Linked DNA regions of Homo sapiens: region 1 is linked to region 2. The links are contacts of gene promoters, found by promoter capture Hi-C in blood cells and fetal thymus (Javierre and others, 2016). All regions are on one chromosome and are shown on one strand. The core of a region is centred on a gene start or on the middle of the fragment in contact, and the rest is flanking DNA. Distances in the headings are between cores, read along the strand shown.

The links. Contacts are between HindIII fragments. The CHiCAGO score rates a contact against its expected background, and 5 or more counts as called.
Region 1: a contact is called between a fragment that was not itself captured here and the fragment with the promoter of CDK6 in region 2, in 1 of 17 cell types (fetal thymus). The highest score is 5.1, in fetal thymus.

Annotation. Positions count from the first base shown.
Region 1 is chr7:92,778,431-92,785,384 of GRCh38, forward strand. The region is part of intron 2 of CDK6 (cyclin dependent kinase 6); the gene reads right to left. Among named protein-coding and RNA genes, the nearest start is that of CDK6-AS1, 55 kb to the right of the region's middle. RefSeq lists a silencer at 4,331-4,531. The HindIII fragment of the contact is 3,942 bases long and covers 1-3,730 here.
Region 2 is chr7:92,834,114-92,840,643 of GRCh38, forward strand. CDK6 (cyclin dependent kinase 6) reads right to left here and starts at 2,460. Exons shown (of 8, transcript NM_001145306.2): 1 at 2,365-2,460. CDK6-AS1 (CDK6 antisense RNA 1) reads left to right here and starts at 2,370. Exons shown (of 2, transcript NR_110088.1): 1 at 2,370-2,450. RefSeq lists silencers at 1,043-1,292, 2,403-2,762 and an enhancer at 1,873-1,952. The HindIII fragment of the contact is 6,850 bases long and covers 1-4,034 here.

The DNA.
Region 1 (6,954 bases), core at 510-3,009, 56 kb before region 2:
TAAAGATAGTACCATAAATCATATTAAGTCTCACACTCTAAAAATATGATTGCTATCATGCATGGATTTAATATGTGGAAAATTTATCAAAACAGTTCTTTTGCCTTGATAATTCAAGATAACTACAACTATTCACAGGCTTTTTTAAGCCAGCTTATTGCTATTAAATCCACATACTTGGACAACTTCACTCTTTTCTTCCTATTGAAAAAGAAAATGGAGTTCCACAATCCCCAACTTTCTTTATATCTGTTGCTTGTATTTTTGTAATAAAATAAAAGAGCAGTGAACCAAAAATGGCATGTCCCTAAAGTCAAATACAAACACAGAGCTGTTTCATACTATGACCATTTCAGTTGTGTTTCTGAAACATTACTTTAAAAATATTTCCCATTATAATTAATATATTTAGTGAAAAAATTACATTGCTTACCACTACCTGGAATCAATAGTAATTTTAGTAACTCCAGTTCTTACTGCATTTATAGTTTATCATATATATATATATATATATATAAGATATTATAGTAATTTCCAAAAGAGAAAAAATTCTGACGGGGGCATAACTGGAGAATAAAGTGATCCTAAAATACTGCTGAAACAAAAAGTCATCTGCCCCCTGGACCGTTGTCTTAGAAGTTACCTAACAACCCTGGCAGTATGCCCTGTTGCTTCATCTCACTGAAACCGTTTTCAAGCACTCTTTGCATGACACAATTTAAAAATAACATCTAACCCACCCAAGTTGCTTTCCTCAGAGTTATACTGCTCTCTTCAAAATATTAAGACTCACTGATGCCACCTGCAGCAACTGGACTCCAGGCCTCAGTTTCAATGGATGCTCAAGATACGAAAGGTGAGCTCACTGAAGCCACTACTAATTGTCCTAAATGATAAACCTTGGAGAAAAAAGGACTCATTTCAATCGGTAGTTTTTAAAACATGGAATTTTAAAGAGATGTGTAATAGTCCATAGAGCAGAACATTTTCACATAAATTTTAATGTATATACTTGCATATTCTTAAAAAATGGTATTAGGTAGAAGTGACTCCTCCAGGTTCAAGGAAATAATCCTTTTTAATTTTTAAGGTGCCATTATTATTAACTTCATTCAGGAAATGGAGCATATTAGAGACTTCTCAGACATTCACAAAGGGCATCAAGGGACATCAGAGTCCTAAGGGTGCCTGTAGGATACTCTCTTTTTTGGCTCCAGTGCTGGCTAGCCATCCACATCCTACAGACCTAGTACTCCATGGAAGACATCTGGGGAAATATTGCTCTTCCCAAAACTATGAAATTTTGTCTGACTTAAATTATGTCTGATTAATGGTTAGTAAACATTGTACTAAAAATTAACAGTTATATTAGTCACAATGGGTAGGAAATGCATTTTGAATCAATGGTTGTAAACATTAATCTTAGAAATGCTAGACTATAATATTTATGATGCTTTTTTTTGTCTACAATGACTCCCTCTGGAATTGCCCCAAATCAAATAATAGTCACTTTGGTGGGCAATAAAGAGAAAACAGAAACTTTATTTTTATTCTTATTTTTCTTTTAAGATGGAGTCTCACTCTGTTGTCCAGGCTGGAGTGCAGTGGTGCAATCTTGGCTCACTGCAACCTCCTGGGTTCAAGTGATTCTCCTGCCTCAGCCTCCCGAGTAGCTGGGACTACAGGCATGCACCATCATGCCTGGCTAATTTTTGTATTTTTAGTAAGGATGGGTTTCACCATGTTGGCCAGGCTGGCCTCGAACTCCTGACCTCAAGTGATCCACCTGCCTTGGCCTCCCAAAGTGCTGGGATTACAGGCGTGAGCCACTGTGCCCGGCCAGAAACTTTAATATAACAAATGAGTTTCATATACAACAACTGAGCTAAGCATGAATTAAAATCCCTGGTATTTGGCTAGAGGTAAACAATCTGTAATGTATTTATATAAATCAATAAGGAATGGGGCTAGGCTACCTAGAACCCTTACACTTGCAAAACAAAAGAGCCAGACAGGTCTGAACACTTGAATGTAAAAACTGGAAAATAGGCTGGGCGCGGTGGCTCACACCTGTAATCCTAGCACTTTGGGAGCCCGAGGAGGGCGGCTCACGAGGTCAGGAGATCGAGACCAACCTGGCTAACACGGTGAAACCCCATCTCTATTAAAAATACAAAAAAATTAGCCGGGCGTGGTGGCAGGCGCCTGTAGTCCCAGCTACTTGGGAGGCTGAGGCAGGAGAATGGCGTGAACCTGAGAGGCAGAGCTTGCAGTGAGCCGAGACCGTGCCACTGCACTCCATCCAGCCTGGGCAATGAGCGAGACTCCATCTCAAAAAAAAAAAAAAAACAAAAAAACAAAAAACAACAACAACAACAAAAAAAACCAAAAAAACCCCAAAAAACTGGAAAATAGCTACAACTGCATGATTCCTTATATTGACCAATATTTTAAGACTTTCTAAAACCTTTTTTTAAAAATTTTTGCTAATCTGTAACCTGACAAAAATACCATTTCAAGAATTACATGACAGCAGTTCCATAAGAAAAATGTAATCACAATGTATTGAATATGAACAAAATATCTCAGATGACTTTTAAAGGAAAGGAAAATTACCATTAAATATTTATCCATTAGAGCTTAGCATAATGTGATCCAAGTGAATGTTCAAAAAGTCAAAGTGCAAACTGGTTATTGGCATTAACTAAGGCTATGCCTTCAGTTTAGCTGTGCAAAATGCAATCCAAAAAAGGCAGATAGGTCGTTATCATTTCACAATTAAGTTGGCCAAGCCCCTAACTCTCCCACAAAGTAAGTTCTCTTGCTGTCTCTATTGTCCTGACCCGCCAGCTGCAGGGCAGAGAACAAGGCTTGCAGTCCAGCACAGCACTCAGTTTTCCAGCTGTCCTAGTGATGTAATTATCTAATAACAAAATATCTCTCTGAATTAACTCTGCATCCTACCCATTGTAATTCTTAATGACTACTTCCTGTTCATGTTCTCAATTTAACTTGCTCTTCTGGAACTATTGCATAGGCAAGTTGCCTTCATCTAATGGATGGGATTACATCCAATAGGTTTGGGATTTCCAAAGATTACAATTTACAAAGGTCTCCCAAACAACATGCTTTGTAAACACAAGCCCTGCCTTTCTATTGTGGTTACAATAAAAGGGAAATCTGTCTTATTTGCTGTGATTAAACTTTGACCCATTCACAGGAAGTTCTATGAGGATTTTTTTCCGGTCACTTTTTTTTCCCCCATTCTCTTCAATGTTTGGACATCAAATAGTTCAAGAGCTGAGAGATGTCTGGCACAGCTACCTAAGGGCCACAACAAAATTCTGCTTGAACTAGAGCCAGTATTTGGAATCGAGAAGAATTTTTAAAAATATCTAATCTCCTCCTCTTAAGTGCATGAAGCATATTCTGTGACTATGTCTTGTATGCACCAAATTTATGTTCACACATCTCACTAGCCCTACACTACGGATATGGGCCACTGTATTCTCTTTTTTGCTCATTAAATATGGACTCTGTGTGCACTTATTCTCAACCAGCACCAAATGGTATAGCTCCAGGAGTATTTGCCACCAACAATAATGTGCATGCTGCTAGAAGCAAATTGCGATTTCAGCAGCACCCATAAACATTTACCAGCACCTACCATGTGCAGGCACTATACTCAGTTTTAGAGTTTCCAATAGATATGACAGATATTGTTTTTAAAAGCTTTACTATCTAGTTGTGGGAAAGAAGACTTACAAGTAAAAATGCAGGTAATGATGTATGGCTATGTATTAGTACCAAATAAATTCTATAAACACTATGTACAACTTTATATATCACATCAAGTAAATTTATTCTACATCCTATTAAGTAAACCACAGATGGTCTCTGCCTTTCCATCCATTTACCTCTCCTGGAAGCCACACCCTTATTTTCTGTTGAGGAACTACTCCTGTCCTAGAATCTGGCAATCTGGTTTTAACAGCAGGGGCCCACGGATGGCATGTGAACAACCCTGGATTGAGTGATGATGAATGATTCAGAGGTGGACAGGAGCATAATAATCAGTCTCAGAAATTTTGCTAGGACTTCTGGGAGAGTAAAACTCTACACTGGGATTATGAAACTGGCAAAGTCTCAGCCTGCAGCTACTGATGGCTGTCTTTGCCACCATTTTAGTGAACCTACTATGGGATGCAGAAGAGGGCCAGAACAAGGGACAGTGGGCAAGAGATTCCGGAAGACATTATTTCCACACCTGGGCCCAGTGTGTTTGATCTACCCCTGGATTTATTAATTATGTGAGTCACTAAAGTCAGTGTTTTGCTTATCCAGCTTGAGTTGGGTTTTTATTACTTGCAACAAAAAATTGTCCTAAGACATCTATAAATATTTTGAAATGATTAAATGACTTAAAAATGTCAATATCTGGCCTCAAATACGTCTTACAGAGTAGACACAATGAGTGAAGCTCAAGCACAAAAGAAGTAGCAGTGTCCTCAAAGTGACTGTCCCAGTTCTCTGACTTGGCTGGGAATCTATTCACCTTAAATGGCTCCTCCATTCGCATGTCCACTGGGCAAAAGTAGCCGACAGCAGAGAACCAGATCAATCCATCCTTCCCAAGGAGCCAGGCAGCTTCCTCTCAGACCCTACTTGAGGTTCCTGATCTGACCATAGAGACACTGGATGGAGGAAAGCACAGAAGGAAGAAGACAGATGGACAAGTTTATCACAAACAGGAATGTAAAACATAGAGTAGAAAAGAACTCAATGGTAAGAGGAAGCAAGGAGAAAAAAGAACTTAAAAATAATACAAAGATACAGGGTTCAATTAATTTAAAGGTTGAATCCAGTGTGCAAGGTGTGTTCTCCTGAAGCCTTCAATTAAACAACCCCTTTCCCACTAGCTGTTGCTGAAAAGTGGAAAAGGACAGGGATGTCAAACCAACTCTAAAGCACAGAAATCCTTTGTATTTAAACTGTTAAGTTTATGGCTGCTATTATCTGACAAGGGAAGGCAAAATCAACATTGCTTATTTACTAAATCATTTTATTCCTACAGCCTTTAAGAGAGTATTCATAAGAAAGTTTCATTGTTTATCTTCTTTCCAACTTTAGAGTTGCTATTAATCTAGTTTCAGCTTCTATCTATATAGACCTGGCACTGTGGCTCTAGGAGTTAATATCTTCTGAATCTGTTAACCAAAAAATGTTTTACATGTGGAATGGGAATCCCCTAAACTGGGCAAGTTTACAAGATGTGACTCTTGCACTATAGTAAATTTTGAAAATAGAGCAAACAGTAAAACTATGTATATGGAAACACATTCCTACCACACGATCAGCAACAGAACTGATGTACTACTAGCTGGGCCTGAAACAAGCTATTTAGGATGGCTTAATGGGTATATGGGATGCCTATGTACCCCTCTCCTCATTCCAGATCAATTCCTGAACTGGACATTAAATAATAGAATTCAGCTTCTTCCATAGTCCTACATACAGCAAGCACTACAGGCACTTCTACGTCATCAAACACAATTATTCAAACTGCTAATGCATTTTATCTGAATGAAAGGCAGAGAAAAGAGTAAGGCTGTAGCATCACTCTGTTATGCTAACTACATGCTATTATGGGAAAAAAAAAAGCTTTAGAGCTGCCACAAAGAAGGCATATCATAAAATGCGATTTGTTGTCTTGCAGGGAAGAGAATGGTAGCAGGGGCAAAATCCTACTTGGAATTAAGTGAACTCCAAGTCACTAACCATGTGGATCATTATCTCCCCAAAGACAAGAGAAAGATAACAGCTAAACAATAGCTGTTTTCTGTAGGCAGCTAAACAATAATCAGTTGATAATTTTGGTGAGTCCAGTTCCAATACAAAATAGATTTGGAAGTTCAAAGAGAACACAGCCAACTCTACAAAAAGAAGCGACCTGCCAATGGAGAAAATTAGGAACTATTAGGTCTAGATTAGTATAAAGAACAATTCACCAACCTCAGCTATAGATCAGGAACAGGGCACTGTTTACCTCTTGAGGTCTCCACCTAGACATGATGAACTTTTAGTCTTTCCTTAACAGTTACCTTCAATCAGCCACTCCAAAAACATAAATATGATGGACAAAATAAGGGCCTAACAAGAGTGAATGGACTGAGAGACCCCAAAACCTGTGGCTTTTGGTGAGAGGATGGGGTGAGGGGAACTCAAGTCGCAAGCCCTACTGGCAGGTCAGAGATGACAGAGTAGCAAACTAAAGATAGCCTTAAACTAGTGGTGCCTCTTTGCGTTTTGCTTATTCTTTTCTTTCAATTCTCAGTGGCACCCACAGCCATGTCTGATACATAGGTGTTCAATAAATATTTATTGAATAAATGAAATTTTTCTAAATTATAACTTAGGGAAAAGTCAAAGTAAAATAAAGTAAAAGTGAGGATACTTCAAGATGTCATTAGGAAAGCGTGGCATTCTGAGTAAGCCAGATTTTGTAACTGCTGTTAAACGAAGACTCAAACACTAAAATATTGCATTTACTAGTTAATTAAAAAATCTTAACAACTGTATGAGATGGTACTCATTTTAGAGACGAAGAAATAGACACAAATGTTCACTGAATGATGACGCAGTGAAGGTAAACAAATATTCACTGCGGCATCATTCGTGATAGCCCAAAACTGTAAATAACCCAAATGTCCATCAACTGATGAATGCATAAACAAGGTGTGGTATATCCATACAATGGAATACTATTTAGTAATAGAAAGAAATGAAGAACAAATACATGCTATGACATGGATAAACCTTAAAGGGATTATGCTAAGAGAAAGAAGCCAGTCACAAAAGACTATGTATTCCATTATTTCATTTATATGAAATATTCAGAGCAGGTAGATCTATAGAAATCGAAAGTGGATTTGTGGTTGCCTGGGACAATGAGCA
Region 2 (6,530 bases), core at 1,210-3,709:
GAGACGGGGTCCAGGGGTGCCGGAGGGCGTTCAGGGGTCGCGCACAAGCTGGAGCGGAAGGACTGTGGGTCCATCCGTGTGGGGCCGCAGAATGTGGGTGGGGGCTCCCAGGACCCTGTAACCCGATGCTGGGAGTGTGCGAGAAGGGGTGGTCAGACATCTGCTCAGAAATTGCTTCCTTTCTTTCTACTTTCAGTTTTTCTACGAGGAGACATTTAAAAACGACTCGCATACACAAATGGTCTTTTTGGGGTAAAGGAGTCTCGGTTGGAAACGGAATTCTCTCTCCGGCTGGGAGGACCTCCCTGGTGGAAACCTTGGGAAGACCAGCCATCTGGTCGGGGAGGGTTGGGGCTTATCGGGGGTGGGCGAGCGAGCGGTCCTGGGGGAGGGGAGACACCGTCCCCCACGGGATCCCAAGGGTGGGAGAAAGGGGTGTTCGCCACAATTTCGCTTGTCGTCTCCTTAAAGAATAACTTCAGGAAGGGGATAGCATAATCGCGCCTCGTCCTTAAGTTTTAAACTGATTTCGACCTGAGCAAAACTCAACCTCCCTTTCAAAGGGTGGGGGGTGGGGGGTTAAATCCTGCGCCTCCAGGGGTGAGAGAGAAGGTCTCTGTCCTCGGGGCCCGGACTCGCGAACCTTTTCCCATTCCCAGGACCTCCCCGCTGTAGGTAGCAGAGGTGGCTGCCCCATTCCCCCTCCGGCTAAAGGCCCGGTCCAGTCTGCAGCCGGACGCCCCCGGAGCCCTCTGCACAACAAAGCGCCAGAGTAGGGTACCCTAACTTTCCCTCCCCATTCAGCAGCTATCTGGGACCTAGGGGGCCTCCCTCCTCCAGGGCCGCCGCGGCCTCGGCAGGACTTTCACCACGACGGCCGCATGTCCGGAATTCCCGGGGCACCTCGGAATTACCTGCCTCGCAACCGCTGGCCCGCTCGCCTTTTGCCAGGAATTAAACAAACGGCGCGACCCCCACGATGAGCGGGTGGAGCGGACCGCGGCGAGAGCAGAGCTTCTGGCACTCACTACATTCAGAACTTTCCTTAAAAGCCGAGGAAAGAGCCCCCAGGGACTGCCCGGGGGTCTGAGCCAGGTCGAGGGCCACACAGGTAGCCGGGGAGCCGCCGCCGGCCGCCCAACCCGCCTGTCCTGCATCCCCCCAACCCCCTCCCGCTCGAGTCTAGCCCCGGGCTCCGCAGCGAAGGAAGCGTCGGGGACGTCCCACCCCCGCAGGGAACTGCGCCTGCTGCCCCCGCCGGGCCCCGCACTGCCCTGGCTCTCCCCCCACTCGCCCCCCAGACGGTCGGCTTCGGCGGAGAGAAACGGGAGCAGCAATGCCTTTTCCCCCCCTCTCCTCCACTTTTTTTTGTTGTTGTTGTTGCTTTCCCACGCTGGCTGAATGTGACTTGACCCCATTTCAAAAAAAGTTTGACATAGTGCTTCAACATTTCCGCATTCCTCCGCGACTACAAAGGCTGCAGCCGCCTCCTTCTGCTTTCTGTCTCTGCTCTCTGTCTTCACACTCAATGAAATCCTTCATGCGCCTCTCCCGAAGCCTGCCAAGCACCACAAGGGTCGCCACCAGCACAGCGACAAGAGGCCACACCGGGGACCGCGACTCCCGCGTGTGCGCACACGCAGATGCGCCCATATGCACACGGACGGGCGCGCTGCGGGGACCAGGGCTGCTCACTGCGGGGCGTGTGTTTAACTCCAATATTTTAAATTATAAAAGTAAACTTGGAAACTACAGCAAACGTGCGTCTTCGCGGGGCTCCAAGCCTGGGCACTGGCCGGCTGCGTGCACTTTTCTGTGTATAACACGCCCGCAGGAAGCCTGCGTTAACATTTATCTCGTGGAGGGGAAGGTGGAGCCCACACCCACACCTCAGCGAGCTGGAGAGGGAGTTTTCGAGGGGGAAATGCAAGCACATTCTCCAGCATGGAGTCCCTAGAGGCAGTGCATTTTAAACCCTAAATGTGAATTATTATGTGAGTGTCCGAGTAGAGTTCCAGTTCCGTTTGGAGAAACTGTATGAGGCGTGTTCCGTGTGGGTGTGTGTGCGTACGGATACGTGGAAGCAGGATCTCGGTGTCGCGGGTGTCCCTAGGCTGGGATCTCCCCCTCTCATCAGATAAGGAGAATCCTCTAGCTCCCCAAAACTGGCCCCCATAACCAATCCCGTCTCAGTTCGTAAGGGGTTAACCAAAGCCGATTCCAAGGAAACACAGGTCCCCCCCACCCCCCGCCACCCTCCACTTACCCCACCCACAGTTCTGCCTCGGACCCCGGCCAATCCCCCAGATCTCCCCCGGGACCCCCCACCCCGCAGCCCACCCACCCGAGCGCACAGCTCCTCACCTGAGGGGCCCAGTCGCGTCGGGCCTCCCGAGGGGGCTGCGAGTGTCAGTCGGCTCTCCGCACGTGTCCGCGGCCTCGCGGAGCAGGTAATCAGACTCTGGGGAAGGAGTTACCAGCACTCTCTCCGGCGAGGGGGTGGGCACAGCGGCGGAGGGCGGAGGGACGGCGGAGGGCGCCGCCCGCGCCGCTCGCTGGGGGCGGACGGGGGCCGCTGGGCTCCGGCCGGCGCTGGGGGCCCCAGCCGGGGAGGCAGCTGGGGCGACCGTGCGGGGTGGGGGCAGGGACCCGCGAAGCCAACTCTGCCGGAGACCCACCCCCCGGCGGGGCTGGGGGCTCGTGGCGCAGTGGCAAGAAAGTGTGCAAATTAAAGCCTTCCGGAGAGAAATGAGGCGGCCGAGTCCCGGCAGTGCTCCGAGCTCCGGGCTCCCTAGCTCCCTTCTACGAGTCGGGGGCTAGAAGGGCGCGGTGGGGGTGGGGGTGGGGGGGAGAGTTAAATGAAAATTTCCGGCTTTCGCTGAAACTGTAGTAGGGGGATCCTGCGACTAAAATAAGCGGCATTAGTGGGAGAGAGTGGGACGTGTCGTCGGGAGTCGGCGGAGTTTCCAAACCCAGGGTCGCCCAGAGTTGGGGTTTTGACAGGGTGAAGCGGGGGGCATCCTCACTGTGTGACGTGGACGGATGGGAAAAACACAAAACAACCAACAATAATTATGAGCGGCCAATGGGGGTGGTAAATACCAATACTTTCCAAGAAACTGAAAAATCAGACCAAAAAATAACTCTTCTCTTAAAAAAATAAAGAAAAAGTTTGGCAGGATGCCTTGCAGAAAAGAAAATACTAATCTATCCAAGCACTTTTCACTTTCAGCATGAGCTACATTTGTTTTGTTTTCCTTCGCTTCCTTTCTGCCTCACAAAGCCCTATCTTTTCCTTTTAGACAGAGGATATGGTTTGGAAATTGTCAGGCACTCTTATGGTTAACGATCTACTTGAAGGGGCTGGCGGGCTCACAATTATTAAGTGGTTAGTAACTGCTGAGGGTTCACTAACGTATTTCAGAGGAGCTAAAAAGACTAAAATTTAGTGTAAATAATAGAACTGCAGATAGTAGATACATACACAAAAAGAGGAGTGCTCAGTTTAAATGCATTATTGGAAATCTGAAATTTGAAACCTTGTAAGAATGTATACTTTACCTGCTGAGAAACCCTTGAATACAATTATTTCAGGTGAAAATTAGATTTTGGAGAAAAAAAAGTCTTTAAAACTTTCTACAATGGAGTAAAAGAAAACTTGAAATAGCTGTCTTTTTGGAAAGAATTTGGTGTTCTCCCCAAAATCTCTATCTGTAGAATACTTGAAACCCTTTAAAACATCTTAAAGCAAAACTTTTCACAAAATTATTTACTTAAGTGCTTTGTAGAAAAATTAAAACCTGGCAAAATTCTGTTTGAATTGGAAATACTACTTCTATAAATCTTTTGACTTTAAAACCATGTTACTAATCTCACAGTAAATCAAATTTTTGCCTTTATAAAACTGATTCTATGTTATAGTGTGAGGTAAGGCTAGGGAAATAAAAATTGATGCATTTTCAGTAGCACATATTTTGCAATGCATTATAATACTTTTTTCTTTAAAAATAAAAGTGAATAATTGTATGTCTTTAAGCTTAAGATAATTCATAAAATACATTTGTGTTAAGAGCATGTCTTCTAAAATAAGATCCAGTTTTCTGAACAAAATTTGTATTTATAAAGCTATCTATAATCTCATATACCTTATAAATTTAAGAAGGCAAATCATTAGATTTTATATTTACATAAAAATATTGGATCACTACAAGTCACTAATTAGACTTTAAGCCAGAGACACAAGTGGGAATCCTCCATTTTGATAATTGTTCACACTTATCATTTGCCTTTTAAAACAAGATTTACTTGCTGGTAATTAACATGTTTATATAATCCAGAAATAATTGCCAGCAAATAGGAAGCAGCACATCATGGCTAGAATTTATTTGAATAAATCATTTATTAAAAAAATAGTAAGCTACAAATATTAAATTAACAGAGAAGTGTCTTTTCTACACTGGGTTGAATTTTTAGTTACTGAATTTGACAACAACCATTGCTAGATCAGAAATTCCATGATTTAGGTTACTAGATCATTTGGACAATGTAAAAAACAATGAAACTTTATTTAATTATATATGTTAGTACTGAGTGTTAACTCTCTGTCCTCTTCTTTTCCTGATACTGCTATCTTTTATGTTAATTTATCATTGTTCACTCTTCCTGCTTATGGTTCACATTAAGTCCCAGTTGGTGAAAGCTTCAGACCCAAGGCAGTTTTACAATTGATTGTATAAAATTAGTAAATACCAGATTATTTTTGTTTATGGATAACTTCTGCTGTGGGTAACAGGTTATCATAAGAAAATATGTTCAAACTTTTTAAACTGTGAACCAAATTCCAACTTCTTTGTTTAGGAGTCTTCTGAGAATTAATATATAGAACTCAAGAATAATGACTCCAACCAGTATTTTCACACTACATACCAGATATTCTAAAGTTGCAAATCATCTTACAGGTATTTAAAAATTACATTTCATGGACTTATTTCCAAATATGGTGGTGTAACTTACACTGAAAGACTTCTTAATGTCACACAAGGAATGTATTTCATGTGTGAACATTTATATATCAAATACCTGTACAATTTTGTTTTCACTAAAATAAACATAAAATTTTAAATTTTGGTCTATAATTTTTAACTTGTTAAGGAAATGTGTAATTTAGTTACAAATAATAATTATATAATGTACACCTAAATCTAATTCATTTCTGATTTATATTGGCTATTTGAGTTTATAAAATATATTTTCCAGAAACTCAGAAATGAGATTTTGCTATAATGTACTACACAATTATTTTAAAATACACTTCTAGTTTAACCTTGAAACAAGTTACCCTACTTTTTAACCTGATTTATGTGTTTGTGTACATGTTATCTTTATTGAGTAATAATCATGAGAAACTATAATTTTAACAGAAATAGCATAATATAAATGCAGTACATTTTAATGCATTCTTCTTTCCCTTCTCAGACATTTCCAAGATATTTTCTTGGGTTTTCCCCTGAACTATATTACCGAAAGTTTGCTAAATAGCTTAGGAAAAGTCAATTGTATTATCAACTTTTTGCATTGTAAAATTCTGAGCTTTAAATGATTTTTAAAGTTCAGTCTTCTAAATAAATTCTTTCTGTCAATTTGGAAATGACCTGGGTTTTTCTGTTTTTACTGTTGCATGTGATCTATTGCACTGCATTTGAGCAGTGAAACTTGAAATGATTTTGATATCTGCCATGAGGGAAAAAATAGATATAAAGTAGTAGCTTATAACATTTAAGGAGGAAAAAACAAACATTACTGTCTTTTGGAACATGCTGCTTCCATTGGTTCTACTACTCTATAATTTTCTTTGTGCAACATGTCAGTACTATGTTCATATTTGTATAATTGCCATCATCTTTTTTAATTTTTCCCTTTTGATAGACACCCATATCTTCTTTTTCCTTTGTGTGTGTGTGTGTGTGAATACCTGTATGTTCTTGGCATATTGTTATGACATGTTTGAAACATGTTCTTAAGATTCTTTCATCATCTATATTAGAATTCTGAGTAATCAGAAAAATAACTATGGAAATATACTTACAAAAGATGGTGATAATCACGTTAAAATACCTATATTTTCTTTCTATTTACAGTGACCTGTAATTTTCACTGGTTTCTAACATTTCTTTTCTGAGATAATACTTGCATCTCAGCTGCACACATGGCCTAAAAATTGTGTTACCATAGCTGGTTTTGGTTGAGCTAAAAGGTGTTTACATGCTTTAGATAGACCATTCAGTTGCAGCAGTGGAGGTATAACACAGTGGGAGTGAACGATGATAAAGTGGGATCTCAGAGGTAGGAGGAGGGACAAAGAAGGCACCCGGGGAGAAACTTCTATGAATGGCCTGGCATCAGGGACAAGTGAAGGAAGCACATGCTGAGGTCGTGGGGCTGAGAGATGCAGCCTCAGTGCTTATAGGTATGGCGTAGCCAGGCAACCCGATTCTTTCAGGATGAATGGCCTTCTGTGTCTATCCTATTAT